Linked DNA regions of Homo sapiens: regions 2 and 3 are each linked to region 1. The links are contacts of gene promoters, found by promoter capture Hi-C in blood cells and fetal thymus (Javierre and others, 2016). All regions are on one chromosome and are shown on one strand. Each heading gives the region's core, a stretch centred on a gene start or on the middle of the fragment in contact. The rest is flanking DNA. Distances are from core to core; before and after follow the strand shown. Region 1 overlaps LOC105373069 (a long non-coding RNA gene). Region 2 holds the start of TRMU (tRNA mitochondrial 2-thiouridylase). Region 3 holds the start of PKDREJ (polycystin family receptor for egg jelly).

Evidence for each region. Contacts are between HindIII fragments. The CHiCAGO score rates a contact against its expected background, and 5 or more counts as called.
Region 2: the fragment with the promoter of TRMU here is called in contact with a fragment that was not itself captured in region 1 in 1 of 17 cell types (erythroblasts); the score reaches 5.0 in erythroblasts.
Region 3: a contact is called between the fragment with the promoter of PKDREJ here and a fragment that was not itself captured in region 1, in 1 of 17 cell types (erythroblasts). The highest score is 5.5, in erythroblasts.

The regions. Positions count from the first base shown.
Region 1 is chr22:45,640,106-45,644,953 of GRCh38, forward strand. All of the region lies in intron 1 of LOC105373069 (a long non-coding RNA gene), which reads left to right. It overlaps LOC105373067 (a long non-coding RNA gene), which reads right to left and starts at 324. Exons shown (of 3, transcript XR_938308.3): 1 at 1-324. RefSeq lists an enhancer at 1-53. The HindIII fragment of the contact is 750 bases long and covers 2,475-3,224 here.
Region 2 is chr22:46,333,697-46,338,544 of GRCh38, forward strand. TRMU (tRNA mitochondrial 2-thiouridylase) reads left to right here and starts at 2,018. Exons shown (of 11, transcript NM_018006.5): 1 at 2,018-2,150; 2 at 4,083-4,248. The coding sequence starts at 2,069. RefSeq lists enhancers at 2,056-2,275, 2,108-2,607 and a silencer at 2,416-2,465. The HindIII fragment of the contact is 6,278 bases long and covers 1-3,404 here.
Region 3 is chr22:46,260,795-46,265,642 of GRCh38, forward strand. It overlaps PKDREJ (polycystin family receptor for egg jelly), which reads right to left and starts at 2,549. Exons shown (of 1, transcript NM_006071.2): 1 at 1-2,549. The coding sequence starts at 2,528. The HindIII fragment of the contact is 7,014 bases long and covers 957-4,848 here.

The DNA.
Region 1 (4,848 bases), core at 1,600-4,099:
CTTGGCAGAGGCTCAGAAAGCCAAGAGGGCAAAGCCATGGAAGTGTGGGGAGGCAGAGGGTGCCAGGGGTGCCGGCTGTCCCAGGACAGCAGCGAGGAAGGGGGTCTCTACTCCTTTCTCCTCCTCCTGGTGGACGATCTCAGACCCTGTAGGTCCCAGGAGGGGAGGGAGAAGCTTGATTCTCTGAGCCTGAGGTCTCTGAGGGCAGACCCTGTGCTACCCTCCTCACACCCTAGGAGCAGGTGCCAGTCTGGGAAGCTCTGAGGGCTTTTCCTTTTCAGAATGGGTGGGGGTGGCTATGTCTCAGCCTTCACAGTTGATCAGTGACACAGACCCTAGGCCTGTGGTCCCTGGTCAGGAAGTTGTGCTGGGGGCAGGGAGGGGCCTGCCCTCAGGTGCTGGTTGGCCTTGGTGGAGAGTGGGGAGTGCTAGGGGCTGGGAAGACTCCCCTGGGTCCCAGAGGGAAGGGCTGTGGAGGTGCTTGACTTTCCCACCTCATTGTGATGCGTCCAGGTGTGAGATACACGCACCTAACTACCCCTTTGAAGGGATAGGGCTGGCAACTCGCAGGCCTCAGAATGAGGGCACACAGTAGCCCTAGGGTCAGCTGGGCCCTTTGTCTTTGTGGCAGCTACACTCAGCCTGAAGGGCAGCCAAGCATTCACATCTGCCAAGAACCTGGGACTGAATCCTGGAACACAGTCTACACGTCTCCCATCCCAGGTCTAAAATGGGAAGGTGGACAGGGGAGGAAGCCGAGAGAGGGTCACCCCCGCCCTCCCCTTCCACCCTGGAAGAGGCAAAGGGGTGCTCCCTTACCCACGTTTTGTTGATTGGACAGTTGAATTCAGAGAGGTTGCCCGATGGACCAGAAGAAACACAGCCAGGAAGAAGCCGTGGTAGCCCAGAGCAGGAGCCCCTGAGGCCCGTGCTCCTCCCTCAGGCTTGTGGGGCTCAGTCCAGTCCCGCGCCCTCCTCTCCAGGGAGCAGCCAGGCTGGGTTCACAGCGCTCTTGCTCCAGTCCACAGTCTCTGCTGGGTTTGGGCGAGTGCAAGGCACAGTAGCCCAGAATCCCAGCTCCCAAATCCCATGAGCTTTGCCACGGCTCAAGCTTCTGGGCCCATCTGGAAACGATGCTGCCGGCCTTACGGGGTGCCTGTGGGGTTCATGGGCCGGCGTTTGAAGAGGCAGTGGTGGTAGGGGCCCGGAGAGCAGGGCTGGGGCTGGTCCCTGTGGGACGGTCACCCCCAGAGGAAAGGTGTGGAAGGCACAGGTGGACTCTCATGGGGCTCTCAAATCACCCGAGATGAAGGTTCAGTGCAGTCCCCAGGCACAGACCCCAGAGATCCTGACTGGGAGGTCTGGCGTGGGGCCCCAAAAGGTGTAATTTTCCCCAGCACTGCAGGTGTGGGGTCCGAAGCAGGTGGTCCGTGCACGGCACTCAAGGCCTTGGTCCAGCGTCAGTGCGGGGTTCGTGCAGCAGCCACATGGGCTGACTGCCGCTGGCCCTGGGAAGACAGGGCAGGATGAGGCTGGGCATCCCCCTGGGCTTGGGACACAGAGGGAACACACGGATGTAGGGTGTGAGCCTACAGTGCATCCTCTGCTCCCCAAAGTGTGCCACCATTCAACATAAAGCCCGTTGCATTTGCTGTCCACGCAGCCTTCAGTGAACCTGTCTATGGGCACACTCTCAGAATCAACAAATTACGGGGCTCGAAATCAAAATCCGCCTCTTCCCCCTATACCAGAAAGGCCTGTCTGTGCCCAAATGTTGAGGGAAATGGATCTGCCTTGACCCTTTCCTTTGGCGCGATCTCAGCTCACTGCAACCTCTGCCTCCAGGTTCAAGTGATTCTCTTGCCTCAGCCTCCTGAGGAGCTGGGACCACAGGTGCGCACCACCACACCCAGCTAATTTTTGTATTTTTAGTAGAGACGGGATTTCGTCTTGTTGGCCAGGCTGGTCTCGAACTCCTGGCCTCATGTGATCCACATGCCTCCGTCTCCCAAAGTGCTGGGATTACAGGCATGAGCCACCGCGCCTGGCCACCCTCTCCTTTCAATGAAACGCTTTTACCTTGGTTTACAGACTCAGATGAGATACTTCCCATCTGTTCATAAAGGGAACAGATTCTGACTTGTGTTCTAATCTTGAGTACCAAAAACTCCCCTAGAAGGGAGCTCTGCATTTTCAGAGGCTCACCCACGTGCCCATGTAGGGTCTGAGAAAGGTCCTGCATGGGTGAGTGATTTAGGGACAGGCGGTAAACTGAGGAAGTGACACAAAGCCTCCTGCACAGAGATCCCACATTCTACCTGGTATTACTCCCATTCTCTGCACTGCTGACAGCTCTCAAACAGATTCTTTCCACGAGGAATTAGCCCGCACACAACATGAATGGGCTCGTTTTATATCAGAAGGCTGAATTTTAACTGACAAATTGGACAGGTTCCCTAAGGCAAGGGTTGCTAAGCTTTGTCATTCTCGCTAAAAATGTGATTTATAATATATTTCTATTTGCTAGACACTCCTTTTCCCAGGAATGAAGACCCAGCCCAGAAACAGGAGGTCTGCTCAGTATCTTGACCCCATATAAAAATATGCTCCTCAAAAGTTTTCATTAGCATATAAACAGATATGCATCAATCAATCTGCAGCATGGCCACGTCAGCTTTATTTCATTATGTTTTAATGATATTTTAAGCAGCCAAACTCTTAGAATTCAGGACAGGGCAAGAGTAACCCACAATTTACTTTAGAATTTTATGTTTTAAAGGAAAGATCTAAGGGTCTGATGAAAGGAGTTGTATTTCCTCGGATCTTTTCTTCCACTTTATAAAATAAAAACCATTTTTGTTGCTTCTTAAGTACTCTGGTATTTACAAATGCAGAATATGTCAGATATTAGAGATCAACCCACACCTTCAGCCAAGTTTCCTCAGAGATCCTTTGTAAAAAAAAAAACCACACACACAAAAAGTGGGTGAAACCGTCTGACTTCTTAGAAGTCTGAGTTAAAAGTTGCAAACTCATTTTGCCCAAGATAACCAGAAATGCTCTAAGCTAAGTGGGCAGAAACAGATTTGATCTCTGTATCTGATTGCTGGCAGAAGTCAAGCAGCCAATTTTTCAACAATGTCTCCATATCATGAAACTTCCTAAAAATCTTCAAGGGAGTAACCTGAGCTTGTGAAAAATGATCCCGAATGTCAATAGGACAAAGCTTCCCTTCCAAGATATAATTAGGGGAGCTTGGAGCAGGCCTTTCATATTTGAGTTGACAAGCATCTTTTTTCCTTTGTTCAGTCTGTTCTGGAGGGCTTTAGGAGGGCTTCGCCATTTCTTTGTTAAGAGGAATGGTTGAAACAAAATTTGTATAAGAGGAATCATTTAAAATTGAATCCATCCAATAGGAATGTTTATTTTACCCAACGTTTTTCTGTGTGAGAATAATACCTGTTTTTTCTAGGTAATATATGTCTTTTATTTAATCACATGCATATTTAAGCCTCTAAGTTCTCTGTTCAAAACACTGATTTTTTTTTTTTTTTTTTTTTTTTTTTTTGAGACAGGTCTCGCTCTGTCGCCCAGGCTGGAGTGCAGTGGCGCTATCATGACTCACTGCGACCTTGACCTCCCAGGCTCAAGCGATCCTCCCACCTTAGCCGCCCAAGTAGCTGGGACTACAGGTGTACATCACCATGCCCAGCTAATTTTTCATAGAGATGGGGTTTCACCATGTTGTGCAAGCTGCTCTTGAACTCCTGGGCTCAAGCAATCTGCCCACCTTGGCCTCCTAAAATGTTAGGATTCCAGGCATGAGCCACCGCACCTGGCCCGTAACACTGATTAAAGACATACAGATCGGCCGGGCGCGGTGGCTCACGCCTGTAATCCCAGCACTTTGGGAGGCCGAGGAGGGGGCAGATCACGAGGTCAGGAGTTTGAGACCAGCCTGGCCAGCATGGTGAAACCTTGTCTCTACTAAAAATACAAAAAATTAGCCAGGCATGGAGGGATGCGCCTGTAATCCTAGCTACTCGGGAGGCTGAGGCAGGAGAATCACTTGAACCTGGGAAGCAAAGGTTGCAGTGAGCTGAGATCCCGCCACTGCACTCTAGCCTGGGTGACAGAGTGAGACTCCATCTCGGAAAAAAAAAAAAAAGATATACTGATCATATGAGCAAAGCATTGCTAAGAAGGCTGATGTAATTGTTAGGCTCCACTGAGAGACGCCTGGTGTCTAGAACTTACGATGTCCAGGCTGGTGGGAGCTGGCCTGGAGTTGGTACCCCGTGGCGATAGAAACATGAATGCATGAAGAGTATCTACAGAAGGGACCAGAACCTTGAGAAGACTCAGAACTCTCAAGCAGAGGCCGGTTGCGATGGCTCAAGCCTGTAATCCCAGCGCTTTGGGAGGCCGAGGTGGGCAGATCACTTGAGCCCAGGAGTTCGAGACCAGCCTGGCCAACATGGTGAAACCCCCACTCTACTAAAAATACAAAAATTAGCCGGGGGTGGTGGCGCATGCCCGTAATCCCAGCTGCTCGGGAGGCCGAGACAGGAGAATTGCCTGAACCTGGGAGGCACAGGTTGCAGTGAGCTGAGATTGCACCACTGCACTCCGGCCTGGGTGATAGAGCGAGATTCCGTCTCAAAAACAAACAAAAAAACCAAAAAAACCTCAGAACTCTCAAGCAGGACTTCTCAACCTCAGCACTGTTGACTTTTGGGTGGGACAATTCTTTGTTGTGCGTGTGGCGGGATGGAGGTGCTACGCCATGTACCTTAGGATGCTTAGCAGCACGGGGGCCTCTCCCCACCAGACGCCAGGAGTGGTCTC
Region 2 (4,848 bases), core at 768-3,267, 690 kb after region 1:
AAACCTGTCTCAGGTACTTTGGGTTCATACCACAAGGGAGGGTTCTCATGCACATGTGCCTAATAATAACAACTATCACAAAAGACTGCAAAAACCACAACTTTACACAAAGGCTATCGTAACCTTCCTCAAAAAAAAAAAAAAAACAAAAAACTTCTGTTGCAAGGACATCTGCCCAGCAACTGCTTGTCCAACCCTGGAGTGCTGTCACCCTTGTTATTGATCTTTGTAGCCAAAGAATTATCTCAAAACAATGATGTGATCCTCATTTTCCCTTTAAAAACCTTTGTCTTCCTAGGCCGGGCACTGTGGCTCACGCGTGTAATCCCAGCACTTTGGGAGGCCGAGGCGGGCGGATCACAAGGTCAGGAGATCAAGACCATCCTGGCCAACATGGTGAAATGCCGTCTCTACTAAAAATACAAAAATTAGCTGGGTGTGGTGGCATGTGCCTGTAATCCCAGCTACTCCGGAGGCTGAGGCAGGAGAATCGCTTAAACCCGGGAGGCGGAGGTTGCAGTGAGCTAAGATCACGCCACTGCACTCCAGCCTAGTGACCAAGTGAGACTGTCTCAAAAAAATAAATAAATAAAATAAAAACCTTTGTCTTCCTTTACTTCCCTGAATACCCACATAGCTTATTGTGGCATGCATATTCCCATTGCAATGCCCTATTCACAAATGAACATCTTTTTCGTTCAGAGTCTCCCTGTGCTTTAGGTAGACCTTGTCTAGATGCTAACTCGTAGAGAAGAACTCAGCTTGAATATCACCCCTGGGGGATGACCTCCATTCTCTCCTCCTTCCTTTATTCAGCGAGGTTATGAAGCACCTGCCCTGGGCCAGGGGCTTTTCTGGGCATGGAGTAGGAGTGGACAGAACACAAAACCCCTGTCCAACACACCTCACAGACATTAAGGATTGAGTGCTGAGTATGCTTGGAGTCAAACTGTAAAAGATTTGAAGATATTTATTCATGTCATAGTCCCAGGAGATCCTGAGAACACGTGCTCAAACTGGTGGTGCTACAGCTTTTGGTTTCGTACGTTTTAGGGAGACATAAGCCATAAATCAATACATGTAAGATGTAACATTGGTTCCGGAAAGGTGGGACAACTCGAAGGTGGGGTGGGGCTTCCAGGTCATAGGTGGATTCAAAGATTTTCTGGGCCGGGGGCAGTGACTCACACCTGTAATCCCGCCACTTTGGGAGGCTGAGGTGGGCGGATCCCTTGAGGTCAGGAGTGAGAGACCAGCCTGGCAAATACGGTGAAACCCCGTCTCTACTAAAAATACAAAAATTAGCTGGGCTTGGTGGCGGGCGCCTGTAATCGCAGCTACTAGGGAGGCTGAGGCAGGAGAATCGCTTGAATCTTGGAGGTGAAGGTTGCAGTGAGCCGAGGTCGCGCCCACTACACTCCAGCCTGCGACAGAGCAAAACTCCATCTCAAAAAAATTTAATTAATTAAAAATTAAATTAAATTAAAATACTGTAAAATACTTCGATATCTTTCAGGGCCTGCCATCTGTCATGTCGGTATCCTATTGCTACGGAGAGTCCGCCTAGACAGTCTTAAGTCTGTTTTGACGTTAATGCTGGTCCGAATTCCAAAGGGAGGAGGAGGGTCTAGTGAGGCGGGTCCCACCCGGCCTTTCCCATCAGAGCCCGAACTCGCGGTTCAGGTTCCCTCTAGGACGCCCTTGGCCGAGAGGAGGCCTCCAATGGCTGGCTGGGGGGCTTAGAATTTTATTTTTGGTTTACAGCGCAGAAGAAGAGCAGTGAGGCCGGGGCGCGGGTGGGGAGGGCAAGGCGGCGGCTCAAAAAAAAAGCCAGCCCCTCGCGGCCCGACAGAGTCTCGGCGCCCCGCGGGTCGGTGGAGCCTCAGGGGTGAGCGCAGGCCGGAGACAGGGGAACCCGCCGCGGGACAGGGGAAGGCCGGACGGAACGCGGGTAAGCTGCCGCAGCTTCCGGCCGGGCCACTAGCGCGGACCCTACGGCCGGGGCGGGACTTCCGGCAAGGCGCGGAAGCGGCGGTAGCTGCAGCTGGCGAAGTTGGGCGACTGGCGGATGCAGGCCTTGCGGCACGTCGTGTGCGCCCTGTCCGGCGGCGTGGACAGCGCCGTGGCCGCGCTGCTGCTGAGGCGGAGAGGTGAGGCGTCCGAGGCTCCCGCCCCCCGCCGAGCGAATGTGTCCCCGGAAACCTGTCCCCGTCCGTCGTGGCGTTGTGCACGTCTCCTCCCTCCCTGGGCCGCTGGTTGCGCGCGGGTCGGCAGGAGGATACCCCGTCCTCTGACTTTGGTTCGGAGGCTCCTCGCCCTCCACCTGTGTAGTCGGAGGTGTGCGCGACTGCAGCTCCGACTACCTGGGAGCAGTTCCGCGCCCCTCTCCACCCACGCGCGCCCACCCACAGTGAGAAGCCGGCGGGCCGGGGTGGGGTGGGGAGGGAAGGGTTTCTCACGGATCTGCGGCGTCCACATTCACCTGTGAGACCGTGGACACTGGTGAGGGGAGCTGGGATCGCCGGGCCGGGGGCCTGACCTCTGCACACGCTGTGGCCGCCCGGTGGGAGGTCCTTGTCCTCCCCACTCAGCAGACTGGACAACTGCCGCGCGGCGGGTCTGCTTGTTCAGCGTCTCCTGTGTTCTCCGCTCGCTGGAGGACAAAGTTTTCTCCAGGAGCATTTGCATTTCTTCCGGCATCTAAACGGAGCCCCACGGGTGCTTAGCATTCCTCGGGCCCGGCGCTGAAATGAGCACTTGTTTAACTTCACCTGTGTGGCTCCCCGCGGGAGGCCTCATTCACAGAGTCACGTTTGTGGAGCTCTGCTTTGCGCCATCTTTGGCTCCTGACCTTGGGCAAGTGAATTAAGCCGTCCCCTGTAAAATTCGGCTAACACCTGCCTCACGGGGTGACTGGAGGGATTAGATGACATAGTACATACTGATGAGTACGTGCTCAGCACATACGAGGTACGCAGAAAACAGTAGTGGCTATTAGTTTATATTGTTAATAACCATAGCTATTATGGTAGGTACAGTAAGTGCCAAAGAGAAGGGTAGGCGGACCATAAGCAGAAATAGTTGTGAGGAAGGGAGAGTGGAGGAAAGCATCCTAGAGATGGAGGTGCTCAGCTGAGTCGAAAGAAGAGTAGGATGTCACTAAGCAGAGACTTGGAGGTGGAGGCGGCCCTCCCGGCACAGTCAGCAGTGCAAGCAGAATCACAGAGGCCTGCAAGTGTGGGCTGGTTCTGGCCAGATGGAGATGGAAGGAGAGGAGCCTGGAGCACGTTTAGCCCTGATTATGGAAGATGCTATACCAGGGGCTTTAGACTGTTAGGTAGACATTAGTCTGGTTGATCTGGGATAGGGGTGGTCTTTCGCGTGTGGTGGTGTAGTTTTGACAAAGCTTTGTCATCAAATTTCTGTTGTTTTGGGTACTATATGAAGCCTTCTTCAGCAGTCATTTGCCCTGTCTTTCATTACATTCAGCCTACCTAAACGAACCAGCTTTCTCATACAGGGTCTGCACCTGTGTAGTTTGCTAAGGTGGTGTAGGGCTAAAGTTGGCCTTTCCAATATTTGGGTGAATATTTTGTTACAATCGAAAAGGTAGAAAATAGGTCATAAACTAGGTGGTACAGCTCTTACAAAATATCGAAAATTTTAATTATCTTTATATCTGATCACTTAGAATCTAAGTCTTAGATAGTAACTAGAAATAACTTTTGAAAAGAGTTTCCTTTTTTGATAACTGAATGGTGCTTTGAAAAATTTTGTTGAGTTTCGACTATTCCTTCGTGTATTCCACACACACTGGCTGATCCCCTCCTGCTAGGTATTGTGCTGATACATAGATGGGGACACAAAGATGAGAAAATACCACCTCGTTAATCTTGGGGACTCAGGCACCAAGATGGAAACCGGATCCCTGAAGCCACATGGCAAAGCAGGGACTGCCCGGCAGGCCAGGCACAGAGGCACAGGAGCACAGCGTGTGGGGAACTTCTCAGAGCTCAGAAATCACTGCCGTTTTACCGAAGGTTGATTTATGTATTCTCTTTAATTGACCTTCCCGCCCGCAGGTTACCAGGTGACAGGGGTGTTTATGAAGAACTGGGACTCACTGGATGAACATGGGGTCTGTACTGCCGACAAAGACTGTGAAGATGCTTACAGAGTTTGCCAGATCTTAGACATCCCTTTCCATCAAGTGTCCTACGTAAAGGAGTATTGGAATGATGTGTTCAGGTGAGTGCGGGTCACAGCACAAAGGAAGCTTCCTCACACTGTGGATCCTTGCAGTGGAAGGATCCGGTAACCAGCCAGACCGACGCCTGTGCTGCAGCCCAGCGCTCTCCCTCCACGGTGGTGCTGAAGACTGCAAGAGGCCTCAGCCACCCTCGGGGCTCTGTGTTAGAGGCGAGGCCTGGACCCCACAGCACACCCAGCTCTCTCACTCCTGTCATTTTGCCACTTGCCTGAAGTCTCTTTAATGCTTTCTTGGACCTTGAGCTGTTTCTGTTGCCCAGTTAGGATAGGGGAGCTAAGGCTGAGGGCTCCCCTGGAAGGTGAGCACCAATGCCTGTGTGCTATGTGGGTCAGCGATTAGGGGATTTCTGAGAAAGAGGTGATACATGGCCTGTGCCTCTGAAAACAAGAAACAAACAAAAACTTTTCTAAAATCCAATATAATCTCAATAATTAAGTGCTGTGTGCTAGGCGTGTGCCACATCTAGGAACATTAAGATGTCTTCACTGTGACCTGGCTCTGTAGGAGTTTGCGGTCTAGTTGGGAGGACATTATCTTCACAAGAGGTGACAGTGATGCGTGGCACGCAGGAAGTACCA
Region 3 (4,848 bases), core at 1,299-3,798, 620 kb after region 1:
GCCAGTATTGTGTCTGATAGAGATTCTATTACATAGAAAGGATCTTTAACTACTTGGTGAGGAGAAGTCATTTTAAGAATATTAGACAAACTCATTAGTATTCCAGTACTCACGATTTCTATTTGTTCAGATCGAAAGCGTTTATCTTTTTGCTGATACTCTTGTAGGGCTTGATTTGCTTGCCATACCCTCATGGTGGCACGTTTCTGAGCATCCCAAGTGAATTCAGAGGGTTTCTGGGTTAATTTGGTAATAGTCATGACTACCTGGCCAATTTCTACCAAAGTGCTTACAGGAAGAAGGAAAGACTGATCGATGAGGTGTTTTCGGAGATTGACTCTGTCATCTCGGAGAGGTAATTCAGTTTTCATGTTATTCAAAACGGAAGCTACTATATACAGTAAGTAACCTGCAGGTAAAAAATCCTTCTTTTGAATCAAAGTAGACAGCAATGAACTTGGTCCCACGGTGAAACTGAGTAACTGATTCAACACTGTCTTTGATGAATTTTTGTCAGTGGGAGCCTGTGCGGTGGCATGCAAAGTCACCTGAGAAAAAGCTCCTAGAGAATCATAGACCTGGGCATATATCTTCAAGCCATATTGACTAGCCAACATACCAACAGGGAGAAAGGAAGGGGGTACTGTGGACTGAGGCCCCAAGTACAGGATGGTCCCCAGGGTGTTCTCTTTTACTGAACTGATTTCACCAACACTGTGCAAATCAGAAACAATTATTTTATATGTAAGAGGGACGTGCTTATCCCTAAAATTACTACACTGGACAACAAATTTAGTAATAAGTGCAATTCCTTTAGCTGGATTAATTTTGCATTCTCCGATCTGAGGGCCATGGTTAATAATAAAAGAATGCCTGAAGACCGAGGTCACTCCACTCCAACATGCTAGATACAGAGAAATCGAAAACTCAGCTTCCAAAAAATGCCGAAAAGCAAAAGCTTTTATAGACAGATAAGCACCATTCCTTCCTGTTACAGTTTCCCCCATCCAATCAAATAGCATCTCACCACCTGAAGAAGACAAAATTGACCATTTATAGAAATCACGGCTTGCACAATTTGTGCAATTTAGGAACAAAGAAAATCTATCAGAGACAATGAAGTTTCTCTCACAATTTTCGATACATGTGATGTGTGCTATGGCTTTTGGTCCTTGGAGCACGTGGACCCTCTTATCAGAAAACGCTGTCCTAGAGTCCTTCCGAATCACCATTCTGAAGAAATACACGTGGTCGCCTTTAAGTGTTTCTGGCAAAAGTGTCAGTACAGGGCCCGAGGCCCAGGGCCATTTCAGATTGGCCTGCTCGGGGTGACAGACTTCCTTGCTCCCCAGGATTATTCGATCCCCACCGTAGTTTCTGGGATCTGTGGTACAGTACCAAAAGAACTGGAGTCCCTGTAACGGGCTGTCCGCATCTGGGTCCGAGGACGTGGACCCGTCCAGAATCAGCTGCTCTGTGAAATTAGCTGTTATGTTGGCATCGCCAAGCATCACCGCCTGCAGGGAACTCCTGACGATCCAGACATAGACGGCGTCCGAGTCTTTCACCTCGGGCATCTTGGGGTTCCCTGTGGTGATGGACACCGTGAAATTAAACACATACACTCCCCACTGTAACGAATTATTGGGGATGTGAATGAACAAGGGGCTGTTCCTGATCTCGAGCTGGGGCAGATCCAAGGGCTGCGTCCAGTCGGGCGCCTGACCCACGGCGGGCACGGAGAACACCTGCCAGTACTGGGCGATGGCGCGCGCGGCCGGGCAGTCCAGCTGCACCGAGGCGTTGATGGTGGCCTCCGCCTGCATGCTCAGGCGCACGGGGGCGCCCTTCTGGTCCGTGTTGATCCTCACGCGCTGGATGACGCAGGCGTTTATCTGACAGGACACGGACGACTCGACGGCTCTGTGGCTGGACGAGTTGACGGCCTGCAACATCACGCGCGCGGGGCCGTCTGTGGGGCACTCGGTGCGGGCCACGAAGCCCTGCTGGGGCCGCGGGCCTGGCGCGGCGGAGCGCGGGGAGACGCGGGCCGCGGGGGAGGCCGGGCGGGCGGCGCCGGGTCCGAGCAGCCGCAGGCGGAAGGCCCAGGCCAGGCGCCCGGGCGAGCGCGGCAGCCGCACGGACCACGTCAGGGAGAGGCGGCCGCCGCGCGCGGAGAGCTGCAGGTCGACGAGCGCGAGCGCGGGCGCGGCCGGCCAGGGCAGGCGTTGGGCGCTGAGCAGGACGCGCAAGTCGAGGCAGTACCAGCGCCGCCCGGTCCCGCCATGGGGGAAGCAGAGGCTGCCGCGGCCGCTCAGGACAGCGCCGCCCGCCCGCACCGCGCTGGGCCGCAGACTGAGGAGGGCGCGGCCGCCGCGCACCCCGAGGCCCGGGGCGCCCCTGAGGAGGCCACCGGGCGCCCCGGAGACGGCGGCTTGTGCCCCGCGAGGAACCGGCGGCAGCGGGAGGCGGCCGACGCTCAGGCTCAGGCCCACGCCCAGAAGGAGGAGAGCGGGCCCAGGCCTCATGGCGCCGGCCCAGGAGAAGCTGGGAGAGGCCGCGAGGCGCGCCCAACCGCCACCGGGGTCGCGGGGATAGTGAGGGTCTTGGGGACAGTGGGGGTCTCGGGCGTCGAAGGGCGCTGGCAGAGGGGTCCCAGGGACAGAGTCCCAGAGAGCAGCTGGGACCTCGGAGCTTGGGGTCAGTCGGCACTGGGGACTTCTTGGGTACCTCTTCCCTCTCCGTCCCCAAGTGTGTGCAGGCCCAGGGTCAGGATGGCTCAGGAGGGCAGTTCAGCCCCGTGCAGACCACAGAGCTGACCACGGAGAAGGGGCTTCAGCAGGAACCCTTGGGAAAGCCAGTCACAAAATGGGAGATCAGGAGGGAACCGTGAGATCCCTGGGCGCCCAGGAAGGTCTGACTCTCGGTTTCTTACTTTGGGGTCGCTTTGCTCTTTTCTTTCTAGTTGGTTTGGGGGTTTTGTTTTTTGTTTGTTTGTTTGTTTGTTTGTTTTTTGAGACGGAGTCTCTGTCACCCAGGCTGGAGTGCAATGGCTTGACCTCAAGTGATCCACCCACCTCGGCCTCCCAAAGTGCTGGGATTACAGGCATGAGCCACTGTGCCTGGCCTCATTCTTTAACTCTGTCCATTTTTGCTGTATATTTTGGGACTTGATTGATGGATTGAATGATTTTAGAGACAGGGTCTTGCTCTGTTGCCCAGGCTGGAGTGCAATGGTGCAATCATAGCTGACTGTAACCTTGAACTCCTGGGCTCAAGGAATCCTCCTGCCTCAGCCTCCCATACTACAGGTCTACACCACTACACCTGACTGATTTATTTTTTATTTTTGTAGAGATGGTGTCTTGCTGTGTTTCACAGGCTGGTCTCAAACTCGTGGTCTTAATTGGCCCTCCCCTGTATTAGTCCGTTTTCATGCTGCTGATAAAGACATAACCAAGACTGGGAAGAAAAAGAGGTTTAATTGGACTTACAGTTCCATATGGCTGGGGAGGCCTCAGAATCATGGCAGGAGGCAAAAAGCACTTCTTGCATGGCAGTGGCAAGAGAAAATGAGGAAGACGCAAAAGCGGAAACCCCTGATAAAAGCATCAGATCTCCTGAGACTTATTCACTACCACAGAACAATATGGGGGAAACTGCCCCTGTGATTCAGTTATCTCCCACCCGGTCCCTCCCACAACATGTGGGAATTATGGGACTATAAGATGAGATTTGGGTGGGGACACAGAGCCAAACTATATCATTCCACCCCTGCCAAATCTCATCTCCTCACATTTCAAAACCAATCATGCCTTCCCAACAGTCCTCCAAAGTCTTAACTCATTTCACATTAACTCAAAAGTCCACAGTCCAAAGTCCTGTCTGAGACAAAGGAAGTCGCTTATGCTTATGAGCCTGTAAAATCAAAAGCAACTGGCTGGGCGCAGTGGCTCACCCTGTAATCCCAGCACTTCGGGAGGCTGAAGCGGGCAGATCACCTGAGCTTGGGAGTTTGAGACCAGCCTGACCAACATGGAGAAACCCCATCTCTACTAAAAATACAAAATTAGCCGGGTGTGGTGGTGCATGCCTGTAATCCCAGCTACTCGGGAGGCTGAGGCAGGAGAATCGCTTGAACCCGGGAAGCAGAGGTTGCGGTGAGCCAAGATCGTGTCATTGCACTCCAGCCTGGGCAACAGGAACGAAACTCTGTCTCAAAAAACAGAAAAAAAATCAAAAGCAAGTTAGTTATTTCCTAGATACAGTGGGGTACAGACATTGGGTAAAGACAACCATTCCAAATGGGAGAAATTGGCCAAACAAAGGAGTTATAGGGCCCATGCAAGTCTGAAATCCAGTGGGGCAGTCAAATCCTAAAGCTCCAAAATTATCTCCTTTGACTTCATGTCTCAAATCCAGCTCATGCTGATGCAAGAGGTGGGTTCCTATGGTCTTGGGCAGCTCCGCCCCTGTGGCTTTGCAGGGTACAGCCTCCCTCCTGGTTGCCTTCGTGGGCTGGTGTTGAGTGTCTGCAGCTTTTCTAGACTCATGGTGCAAGCTGTTGGTGAATCTACCATTCTAGGGTCTGGAGGATGGTGGCCCTCTTCTCACAGCTCCACTAGGCGGTGCCCCAGTAGGGACTCTGTGTGGGGGCTCTAACCCTACATTTCCCTTCCACACTGCCCTAGCACAGGTTCTCCATGAGAGCCTTCCCCCTACAGTAAACTTCTGCCTGGCATCCAGGTGTTGCCATATATCTTCTGAAATCTAGGCAGAGGTTCCCAAACCTCAATTCTTGACTTCTGTGCAACTGCAGGCTCAACACCACATGGAAGCTGCCAAGGC